Linked DNA regions of Homo sapiens: all the other regions are linked to region 3. The links are contacts of gene promoters, found by promoter capture Hi-C in human tissues and cell types (Jung and others, 2019). All regions are on one chromosome and are shown on one strand. Each heading gives the region's core, a stretch centred on a gene start or on the middle of the fragment in contact. The rest is flanking DNA. Distances are from core to core; before and after follow the strand shown. Region 1 holds the start of SNAPC4 (small nuclear RNA activating complex polypeptide 4). Region 2 overlaps SEC16A (SEC16 homolog A, endoplasmic reticulum export factor). Region 3 holds the start of LCNL1 (lipocalin like 1).

Region 1 (3,850 bases), core at 1,320-3,819, 580 kb before region 3:
GCACATGGGGAGGGGAGCACGTGGGGTGGGGAGCACGTGGGGAGGGGAGCACGTGGGGAGGGGAGCACGTGGGGAGGGGAGCACGTGGGGTGGGGAGCACGTGGGGTGGGGAGCACGTGGGGAGGAGAGCACTTGGGGTGGGGAGCACGTGGGGAGGGGCACATGTGAGAAGAAGAGATCCTAGGGGTGTGAGCTGTGTTGACCATCCAGGCATGGACTGTCCAGACTGCCATCTGGTGAGGTTCAGGCCTGCCCCCTCCTCCCAGGATGGTCCACTCCAGAAGCCCTGCACAGGCCCAAGGAGGCCAGGCCCAGACCCTGGGATGCCTAGAGCCCAGTGTACACACACAGCCAGCTGGTTCAGGGGCTAGCAAAGGAGGAATTGTCAGAAGCTCTCTGGCTGGAGTACAGAAAGACACCAGTGTTGGCAAAAAATTGGGTCTGGTCCAAGCAGCACCAGCCATCGTTTATTATTATTATTATTATTTTTAGAGACAGGGTCTTGCTGCGTTGTCCAGGCTGGACATGAACTCCTGGGATCAAACAATGCTCTCACCTCAGCCTCAGGAGTCCCTGGGTTTACAGGCCTGAGAAACCACACCCGGCTACCATCACTCCCTAATGTGCCTGAGAGGAACCCAGGAGGCAGACCAGCTGTTCTTACCAGGACCCCAGGAGGCTAGGTACAAGGGGCTTACCTGCTTCAGAATCTGACTCGAGACTTGATTCTGAGATCTCCACGTGGGAGCCCGAGGAGCCGGGATCCAAAATCCTTTCCAGCTCCTTGATCTCCTGTGTTATCTTCTCTCTTTCAGCATCTACATCCATGACTCCCGCCTGCCTCCAAAACACACCCCGAGATGTTAGAAACCAAGACCGTGCCGGGATCCCATTCTCCTTCAGACACACCCGCCCATGGGGGATGGCAGGAGCCTGCTCGGCAGTGGGCACTGGGCTCCCCAGAGAAAGATTAATAGGCCAGGCACAGAATCGGGGAACCCTGGGACAGGAACCTCAGACCCCACAAACTCCTGCTATGTGCTCTGCCAGGAGCCTAAGCCCCAAGAACATCTCCCGCCTGCTCTGAGGCTGCAACCAGCACAGGCAGGGAGTGGATGAACAAGGACAGGCCCCACTGTCCCGTCTCTGCTCCCACACCAAGCCACATGGAAACTGGCCACCCAGCGTAGAAGGTGTGGGGTGCAGTGGCAAAGTCACTACAGGGCAAGGACACAGCCCGTGACCCACTTTGGCCATCCTGCTCTCCCATGACACAGAGCCGGACCACAGAGGGCATTTGAGAAACGTTCACAGAGACACACACTGAGACTGCCCAGGTGGCAGGCACTAACAGCATGGTTGGGAAGGAAGCTCCCAAAGGGAAGGCTGGCTGTTCTCTGTACATCCAGAACAACGCCTGGAACGTGGCAGTGCCTGACACTAACAAATGTTTGTCAAGCTTTTTTCTTAGGAACTGTGGTCCAGGAAGTCTGAAGGGAGAAGGACGCTAGAGAGAGAGTGGGAGAATGAAACATTAGCAGAGAAAATCTAAAGGAATCACTAGCACAGACCCGGGAGCCCAAAACACCCAACAACAAAGAGAAACGCCCTCCCCCGTCCTTGGCGTGGCTCTCCCTGCTGGAGGCTGACTGGGGCCCTGCCCAACTGGAACAAAACCAAAGCATCCACCCGCGAGCACCGTTAGCCGCATCAGCAGCCCAGGTCCCCTCACTCCTTCACAAAGCCCCTTGTTTATGCCCGAAATGCTTGTGAACCTGTAAACTCAGTTAACAGCCGGCCAGAGGCAGAGCTGGCAGCGACCGCAGGCTGGTTCAGCGCCTCCGGGCCGGCGGAGACGCTTTCCTCTGGAAGCCTCACACGAGGCTGCTGCCTCCCCCTCCCCGTGTCGCTCAGGTGAGCAATGATCAGCAGGAAGGAGGTCAAAGTCACACGTGCTGAGCCACTGACATCAGGGGCTGTCCCTCTCCCCGCACCCCTCTCCCAAGGGCTGGTCATGAGGGCTGCCCACCAAGACGGAGCGCAGCAGGCGGTCCCTCCAGCCCCAGCTGCGGGGACGCCACCCAGACTCGGCTGGGCCCAGGGAACCCCAGGATGCGCCAGGACGATGGGCGTTTAGGCACTGGCTTGGGAGACAGACCCGGCCCAGGCCCAGTTCCGCCTCCTGCTCGCTGCGTGAACTGGGGAAACCCCCTCCGAGGCTCGGCCACCGCGGAATCGCCGGCGCAGTCCCCGAGACGCACGCGGGCGCCCTGCAGCCGGGGCCGCCCCGCCGGAGCCTCCTCGGAGCCCGCAGCCCGCTCCCAGCCGAGGGGCTCCCAGGGCCAGAATCCCCGCGCGCCCAGGCTCGGCCGGACGGGGGCCACGCCGGGCCTCAGTTTCCCCGACTTTGGGCGCTGCCCCGCCCCCGTCCCGGGCCTCGGCTATCCGCTCCTCGGGACAGCGCCCCCTCCACGGGGAGAGCCCTGAAGCTGCCGACGCCACCCGCGCCTCACCTGCTGGGCGCACACCTTACCTGGCCGCGCGGACCCCGCCGTCGCCCGGGCGACTGCAGACTCGACGCTTCCGGCGGCTGCAGAACAAGAGCGCCGCGCGCCGGAAGTCCCGCCTCCTGAGGCGCGGGGCACGCCGGGACGGCCGCTGCGGCCTGCCGGGACTAGAGAGGCGAACGGCTCGATGCTGCCCTCGCGCGGCCGCCCTGGGGGCCGCCTCCGCGCGCTCTGGAGGGGCGCGGGTGGACGCGGGACCTCAAGGCAGGGGACAGACAGGGACAGGCACCCGGCCACCTGGTCACGATCCGGAAGACCGGCCCTTACTGGCTGTGACCTTCGGCCATCGCTGGACCTCTCTGTGCTTGTTTCATCCTCTGTTAACGGACATGTTGGGGTTTGGTTAAGCAACGGATGAGAAAGTCTACGTGAAAGGCTTTTTCCCCAGCCTGCCCTGCATGCTCAGGATCGCCGAGGCCAGGCCGATCTCCAGGCACGTGCAGGAGACTGAGGCCAGAGGGTGGGGGCCCGCACCACACAAACTCGCTTCCCTGGTCACCTGTGCACACCCTCTGGGGTCTCCTGGCCTGGAGAGCTGCCCCGGGGCCCTCCCCTAAGTGGGCATTCATTCCTTCAGGAACGTGCCAGGGCTAACTCGGCCGGGAGCTGGGCAGGGGCCTACAGTTCCTGGCTCCTGAGAGCTTCTAAGTATCGGTGCTGCAAAGACATCCTGGGCCCAGCCAGTTGAGGGGGCCTCCACTCCAGCCTGGGGTGAGCTAGGGGCATCAGCTGGAGAACTATAAAGAGGGTTTGCCCTGCCTACCTAGGAGGTGGGCTTTTGGTGGCAAAGGGCTAGGCCCAGGTGAGGCCAAACTGGGAGCTAGGGATTGGCAAGAAACAGATGGAGGGGATGGAACCAGGCGGCTGGGGGCTCCTCGAGCGCCTCGTTTCAGTCCCTGCATCGGGCTTGAAATCTGGAGGCAGAAGGCAGGCACTAAATACCGCGCCACAAATTGTATTTTTAAACTTCTTACTATCAAACGCTTCAAACACAGACATCAAAAGAGAGGGGTGCGCAAAACCCACATGCCCATCCCCACCGCGCTTCCCTGGGCCCCACCTGCTCCATGAGCTGCTGGCATGAGGGCCAGGGGACCACCCCACTTCACACGCATCTGGTGGATGGGACCCGCCTGGCGATCTGGCCTTTGTGACCCCCACCCCATCAAATGCTGTCTCTCCCAAAGGGCCTCAGGGAAGGCCTGTGGCCTGAGGCATCCTCCCCAGATGCCCCCATCCTGCTGCTACAGGGCTCCCAGAGCTGCCTATACACTCAGAACCTC
Region 2 (3,721 bases), core at 166-2,665, 540 kb before region 3:
CAGCCTGGCTGTCCAGAGTCCAGGGACAAGTGGTGGCCAGGCCTGGCCTACTGCATGGGACGCGGGGACCTCAGTTGCAGACAGCTGGCCAATGCAGGCATCCACTCTTGCTCCCTCGCAAAGCCTCATGGAGGGGAAAGCCAAGGAATTTTTGTAAAGGCACTAACCACATGGTAAAGGGAGCAGGACAATACCAAAATCGACTAGTCTGGATGCTGAAAAGCAGGTGACAGCCAGGGGCCAGCTTGGGGGCAGTGGTCCTGGGAGCCTCGGCCTCGTTTGTAGAGGACCAGGGCAGGAGTGCTGGGCCCCAGCCCAGGAAGCCTGCAGTCAAGAGTGTGTGAGGCTGTGAGGGCAGGCTGGGGTGACAATGGGGCTGAATCCCAAGAGGCCCCAGACCTTGGACCCCGCTCAGCTCCCCTACACTGGCAGCCAGTCTATACTCCACAGGCAAGGGAGAGGGGAGGAGAGACGAGGCTGAGGGAGGGAAACCACAGGAAACATTCTAGAACACTCCCCAGCTGAAGGGCATGCAGTCAGGCCCAAGGGGGCTGAGGGTGAAGCCCTCCAGGTCCCAGGGAAACGGACCCTGAAAGGGGCTGCAGGCAGAACGGCCCTGGGGTCTCAGCAACCACAGGCAGCAGGAAACCTAAGGCCACTTGCAGTTCTGAAGAAAGTGACTTTGGCCCAAGAATTCTACCAGCCAGCCAGATAGGCCGGAGGAGAAAGGCAGCTCCAGACGTGAAAGGCATCTCCCAAGTCACCCTGGGACCTTTCTGTCAAGAAGCTATTAGGAAAAAGAAATAAAAAACATACAAAAAAAGCAAGAGCTACCAGAGGATGTGTGTCACCAAGACAAACAGAGTAACTAAGAAAGGCAGCAACATAGGATTCCAAAGCTGGGGGACCCACTCCGGGGAGACCCGGGTGCCCGGGCCAAGGGAGGAGAGATCACGCTCGGCTCAGAGACCACGGGCTCCAGGAGAACAGAATAGCAGACGTGGCAGAGCTGGGGGCTGAATGAGGGATACACAAGTAGAAAGCCAAGCACATTTTACAAACTACAACCTAGGAAAAGGCAAAGCGAATACAGGAGCACGGAGGGCCTCGTGTCGACAGAGCTCCACACGGGAGCACGGCGGGCCTGGTGTCCACGCAGAGCTGAGCACGGTGGGCCTGGTGTCCACACAAAGGGAGAAATGGCAGCCGGGGAGGGCCCAGCCTGGCTCCTCACAGTGCCCTGTGGACTGCCACCCAGTAGGTGTGCAACTTTCATTCAGAAAAGAGAAGCTGGGCACGGTGGCTCAAGCCTGTAATCCCAGTGCCTTGGGAAGCCGAGGTGGGAAGATCGCTTGAGCCTAGTAGTTCAAGACCAGCCTAGGCAACAAGGTGAGACCGTCTCTACAAAACATAAAAAATTTGCCAGGTGTGCTGACCATGCCTGTAGTCCCAGCTACTCAGGAGGCTGAGGCAGGAGGATTGCTTCAGCCCAGGAAGTTATGGCTGCAGTGAGCTGAGATCAGAGATCGCACCACTGCACTCCAGCCTGGGCAACAGAGCAAGACCCTGTCTCAATAAATAAATAAATATATTTTTTAAAAAGAAAGAAAAAGAGGATCTAGGGCAGAAAGCTGCCATCACTGAGCAGCAGGGTCAGGTCGTCAGTGGGCGTGTTAGGGTCTCGTAGGGAAAGGTAGGAGTCACTCACCTGTGCCAGCTGAGCAGGGTTGTAGAAGGGCATGGCCCCGCTGGGAGGGCCCCCTGCAGCAGGGAGGTCGCCAGGAGCCTGAGAAGCACAGAGAAGTCACCTCAGCAGGGCTGCGCTGCACAGCAGCTGTCACTTCAAGTGCAGATACAGACACCGCTTCTGGGTGGGATTTACAGTACTTTTACATAAGCTACAGAAGCAGATCCAAGACACTTCTTGCAACACTGGATTTAGTTATTTAATGGTTCAGAGAAAAATGGTGAAAATCAAAGCAACGTGCAGAGCCAATGTTTTAAGCACCGGAACATGCAATGGGAAGGTGCACACAGCACTGAGGTGGCACCGAGCGTGCGAGGTGGTGAGGAGGTGCCCACGGCTGCAGCTCTAAGGCTCCAGCCATGACACGAGGCCCAGGGCTCTCATTTGCAGGCGGAAGGGTCGCTGCAAGCCTTTCTGCTGAGCCACGGCTGCAGCTGGTGCCTGGACAGGCAGAAGATGAAGCGTTCGTTCACCTCCCTCCCACATTGGCCGCAGGTCACTGCTGCACCCGCCCCGGCCTCAAACCAACGTTCTCATGCTTGATCAGAAAGGAGCAATCTTCCTTCCAAAGGAGAGCATCCTGACCGGGGAAACACTCACTCGGCGAGGCCACGACCCAGGCCCGTCATTGGAAAAACCAATTTGGAAAGAGCAAAATGACAGAACCCACTCATTGACTAGGACACCTCAGGGTCGATCCAGTTGCCCCATGTATGTGGAGACTGAACAGCAAAACCCCCTTTAAGGCCATTTAAAGGAACACTGCTGTAATCTCAGCACTTTGGGAGGCTGAGGCGGGCGGATCACCTGAGGTTGGGACCAGCCTGACCAACATGGAGAAACCCCGTCTCTACTAAAAATACAAAATTAGCTGGGCGTGGTGGCTCATGCCTGTAATCCCAGCTACTCAGGAAGGCCGAGACAGGAGGATGGCTTGAACCCAGGAGGTGGAGGTGGCGGTGAGCTGAGATCACACCATTGCATTCCAGCCTGGGCAACAAGAGCGAAACTCCGTCTCAAAAAAAAAAAAAAAAAAAAAAGGAACCCTGTACCCTTGGTCACGTGACGCTGAGGGAGACAACGGGCGAGGTTAGTGGCAAAGCGCACGTGGCGAACCGGCACCGCGTGCTCAGGAACACAGGCGGCACACGCCAGCTCTCATGTTAGTGAGGACCACCAGCCGCAGGTACCTGATTAAAATGCTGGCTCACTTCACGTGATAATGAACTCATTGAACTACAGCGCGAAAGCTACAAAACAGCAAGAACACACATAAAACACGGACGAAAGTCAACATGCACGTCACTGTCCAATCCAAGCTGTCAGTTCCATTTCAAAAGCTTTGTGATGCCATTAGAATCAACATAACTCAAAAGGGAAAAAAAAGCCAGTGTTAGCTTAAGATTCCTGTCTTAATGTAAAGCTGTTATCCCGAAACAACCATTAGCTTAGGGGAGGGCTGGGAGGAAAAGTCCAGCCTCGGCCTAAGCCAGCTTCACCTCCTGACACCTCACAATTCAAGACAATTCCCGTGCTGTTGAAGGGAGAGGACCGGGACTGAGGCGACAACTCAAACCCCCTGCACCCCTCCTGGAGCTCCCAAACAGTTTTGTTAAAACAAGTGCAATTTTTTTTCCCCCAGGAACACCACCTTCGAGGTGCTCTTGTTTCTAAACTGCCTCTTCCTACCCAGTACCGCCCCTCCATAAAGGAAGAGGCGCCTGGACAGTGAGCTGCTGGGGAGGCCTGGGCTGCGGGGGGCCCTGGCGTCGGCACTCCTTACCTCTCCTCCCTGGGAACCCTCAGGCCTGGAGGAGGGGAGTTCAGAGCCAGGGAGTGACGCTGCAGAGCTTAAAACCTGCCGAGGAAAAGAAGAATTGCAGCAACCAAATCCCAGGGAATTTAAGTCTCTCACACCAGGCCAAAAAATATGAAACTGTTCTGGCCTGGGTTACAAACGCCCTCTTCCACGTA
Region 3 (3,739 bases), core at 601-3,100:
GACAAGGCCAAGGGGCTATACCACAGGGACCACCTGGCAGCAAGGGTGTCTGGCTCCTGGGCTAGGAGGAAACCAGGGTGGGGGAGACAGGATGGGAGGGAACAGGGGATGGAAGGGGAGGGCCAAGGACGCTACATGGATGCCGTGGGACAGCTCGGAGAGCAGGCTCAGGGCGGATTCACCCACCACCCCCAGGAGGGAGGCCTAGGCTGGAGCTGGAGTCTGTGGACCCTGGGGCTGGGAAGGGTGGAGTCTGTAGACCCTGGGGCAGCGGGGATCCAAGCCCCAGGGATGGATCTTGCTCTCTCAGCGGGGCTCAGTGGGGCTGGGGGCAGAGAAAAGTCCCCGTAGCCCGCACCTGCTCCATCGACTGGAGTGGAGGTGGGCTGGGGTAGACTGCAGTCCTCCATCCTAGCCTTTCGGTCACACCCCTCAGGACTCCCCAGGGCTGAAGCTGGGATCCCGGCCAGCCAGGTGACCCCCACGCTCTGGATGTCTCTGCTCTGTTCCTTCCCCGAGCCCCTGCCCCGGCTCCCCGCCAAAGCAACCCTGCCCACTCAGGCTTCATCCTGCACAATAAACTCCGGAAGCAAGTCAGTAGAGCTGGCTCCTGGCTGTCTGCGCTGTCATCACCCGTCCTGGGCCTGGCCCTGGCCACCCGGACCTCCCCCTCTAAAATCTCAGCCTGACGTCAACAAAGGAACAGGCCCTCTAGTGTTTGCTCCCAGTGGGGTCTTGAGTCAGGACAGCTAGGAGGGGGTGTCCCTCACTGTCTCCCACCCACCCCACACAGTCGTGTGCCCCTGCCCCACAGCCCCACACGTCGAGCCATACCCCCTCAGCTGCCACTGCCACCAGGCCGGTGCTGAGCTGGGGGTCAGTGACTCAGCTAATCCCTTAGGCAGGTGCCCTGCACCCCCAACGCCACCCTGTCACCCCCTCAGCAGTAAAGGCCTGAGGCTCGAGGCCCCAGAGGAGCTTTGGACCTGTTGGGTATCTTGAGGTGTGGGATTAACGCACTGAGATTGGGCAGAGATAAGGGTTTCAGGGGACAAAAAGAAACATTTGTTTGAAACATGCCAGAGTGTCTCCACCCCGCATCAGGACAGACTGACAGAGTGGGCTGGGGACAGGCTACCCCATATCCCTTCTGGCTCCCTGTGCGCCCCCTGCCCTCTGACCTGGGCCTCCAGATCACAGCCTTGTCCACTCACCAGAGCCCTGGCACCACGGCCACACCATGCCCGGCCAGTGCCCTGCCCAACCCTGCTCCCTTCCAGATTCCCACCCAGGCAGCCATTCTCAGGTACACAATGTGCAGGACTCACTGTGACCTGCCCACCAGGCCCCCCCGAGGCAGACCCTGCAGAGGCACCAAGCATTTTGAGGCTCGGAGGTGAGGGTGAGCTTCTGGGTGGCCTTCCCGGAGAAGGGGGCTTAGGGCTGTGCCTGAGCTCAAGGTAGGGGGGATTCCAACATCCCAGAGGGGCTGCAGAAGGCCGAAGAGGCAGGATGGGTGAGCTGCAGGCCCCCTAGCCCAGAGGCCCGTCAGAACTACCCTCAGCTGCCAGGCATCCGGCCCCACCCCGGAGGAAAGGCAACGGATGGCTGGGGTTGGGTGGAGGGAGCCAGGCCAGAGCGCTGCAGGGTGCAACTTGATCAGAAGCCTGTCACAGTGGGTGCAGTCCCAGGCCAGCCGCCCCAGGGCACCTCAGGGGCGTAAAGCCTACAGAGGAGCCACCTCAGCTCTGCCCTGCTCCCGTGTCCGGAGGAGATGCCATCTTGCTGCATGATGCTTCGGGCTCTGCTGATCAGTTCCCTCCTTGCCCTGCTCTGGGCATCCCCAGGCCAGGCCCAGGTCCCCATCCAGGCCAACTTTGATGCCAGCCAGGTGTGCCCAGCCCTGTTTCCTCCTCATCTCCAATGAGTCCTCCCGGCTTTGGTGCTGCACCCCGGGTCCCTGTCCACACCCTCTTTGATCCAGGCTCAGCAGGGCTAGGGGCAGGGGAAACCCCCACCTCACCCGCTCCGTCTGACTGGAGTAGGGGTTGGCTGGGGAAGACTGCAGCCTCCATCCTACCTTTTCAGTTGCATCCCCCAACAATCCCCAGGGCCCAAAATAGGGACAAGTTGGTTGCCTGTGCCTCACTGTCCCCCACCCACCCCACAAAGACCTGTGACCTTGCCACAGCCCCACCCATCCAGCCGTACCCCCTGGGTGCCAGCTGCAGACAGGCCGGTGCTGGGCTGGTGGGGGCCAGTTGCTCATGTACTGAGGCCCCCCTCCCTCAGTTCTGCATCGGGGTCGAGATGTGTACAGCAGCCCCTGCCGTGGCCAGGAAGCAGCTGTGTCGGGGCAGAATGTGGTGGGCTCAGGCCCAGGGCACAGGGGCGGCCTCCCAGCCTTCCCTGCACTTGCCCTGCAGTTCCAGGGCACCTGGTACATGGTCGGGGTGGTGTCAGATGACCAGGACTTCCTGGACTCCAAGGACACCATGAAGATGGCTGTGGTCTTAGTGACCCCCTTGGGGAATGGTGACCTGGCCCTCAAGTTTGGATACCCCACGTAAGTGACCACACGAGCCCATCAGACTCAGCCTCAGAGGATGGCCAGCATGAGGCCACATGAAGGTCCAGAGGGACCATGGTGTCCCCAGCACATTGAGGTCAGACCACGGGTCCTCGACGGCTCTGTGCGGCAGAGCCCCAGATGGCAGCCACACGGAGTCCAGAGGGACCCAGGCCCTGGAGGAAGCACTGCCTGAGGCCTGGTGTTGAGAAAAGTGTCTGCATGTCTGTGTCTGTGTGTGTATCACTGTATGTGGCTGTGTCTCTGTGTATGTGTGTCTATTTCTGCATGTGTGTGTGTCTGTGTGTGCGTGTGTATGCATGTGTGTCTTTGTAGATGTGTACCTCTGAGTGTGTATGTGTGTATCACTGTATGCGTCTGTGTGTCTGTGTGTCTGTGTATCTGTGTCTGGCTGTGTGTGTCTATCTCTGTGTGTGTCTTGTGTGCGTGTCTATGTGTGTGTCTGTCAGTGTGTCTGTGTCTGTGTCTATCTCCGTGTGTGTGCATGTGTGTATGTGTGTGTCTTCTGTGTGTCTGTGTCTGGAAGGGGGACCTGGAGGCCCTGCATTCTAGGCTGTGTGCCTGTGAACAGGTACTTAATACCCACCCCACCCCCAGCAGGAGTGTCCCCACCTCTAAGGTCATCCTAAAGTCCCATGTCCTCTAAGGATTGTGAGGGTGAACAGGGGACCCTGGGCTCAGAGACAGCAAGGTAGGCTCTAGGCCTGGGCGCTGGGCAGGGGTGGCCACTCAGGGGATTGGGGCTCTTTCTCCCCAGGCCCCATGGCGGGTGCCAGAAAATGGACACGACCTTCACCGAGGGTGCTGTACCGGGGCAGTTCAGCAACCCAGGTGAGGTGGGGCAGCAGGCAGGGCTGTGGCGTGGGGGCCCTGGAGGCTGCATGGACTGCTGGATTGGCACCTGGGGCCGGGGCGTGAGGGGTGCCACGCTCGGGGGGGAGGTGCCCTGGGCCTGGGGTCAGCGGCTCTCGCTCCTCCAGCCATGGCCCTGAGTGACATCCGAGTGGCCTTCTCCGACTACCAGCACTTTGCCTTGCTGTACTTGGAGATGCGGAAAGGGGGCCTGCGGAACCAGTGGCTGCAGCTCTACGGTGGGCGGGCTGCGGGGCGGAGACCCAGACACCCCCGCTTCGGGTCTGGGATGTCACC

What was found. The method cuts DNA at HindIII sites, captures the fragments that hold promoters and counts their contacts. A contact is called where the count stands out against the background at its distance.
Region 1: a contact is called between the fragment with the promoter of SNAPC4 here and the fragment with the promoter of LCNL1 in region 3, in 2 of the 25 tissues and cell types used here (dorsolateral prefrontal cortex and spleen).
Region 2: a fragment that was not itself captured here is called in contact with the fragment with the promoter of LCNL1 in region 3 in 2 of the 25 tissues and cell types used here (dorsolateral prefrontal cortex and spleen).

What each region holds. Positions count from the first base shown.
Region 1 is chr9:136,397,601-136,401,450 of GRCh38, forward strand. SNAPC4 (small nuclear RNA activating complex polypeptide 4) reads right to left here and starts at 2,570. Exons shown (of 24, transcript NM_003086.4): 1 at 2,534-2,570; 2 at 699-837. The coding sequence starts at 828. RefSeq lists enhancers at 1-1,053, 2,783-3,719 and silencers at 2,228-2,337, 2,408-2,537, 2,608-2,817, 2,968-3,017. The HindIII fragment of the contact is 18,374 bases long and covers 1-3,850 here.
Region 2 is chr9:136,442,115-136,445,835 of GRCh38, forward strand. SEC16A (SEC16 homolog A, endoplasmic reticulum export factor) reads right to left here. Exons shown (of 32, transcript NM_014866.2): 29 at 3,531-3,605; 30 at 2,938-2,997; 31 at 1,709-1,786. Among named protein-coding and RNA genes, the nearest start is that of INPP5E, 4.1 kb to the left of the region's middle. The HindIII fragment of the contact is 6,254 bases long and covers 1-3,721 here.
Region 3 is chr9:136,981,143-136,984,881 of GRCh38, forward strand. It overlaps LCNL1 (lipocalin like 1), which reads left to right and starts at 1,851. Exons shown (of 3, transcript NM_207510.4): 1 at 1,851-2,566; 2 at 3,348-3,421; 3 at 3,571-3,739. The coding sequence starts at 2,445. PTGDS (prostaglandin D2 synthase) reads left to right here. Exons shown (of 7, transcript NM_000954.6): 7 at 437-600. RefSeq lists an enhancer at 3,189-3,739. The HindIII fragment of the contact is 9,863 bases long and covers 1-3,739 here.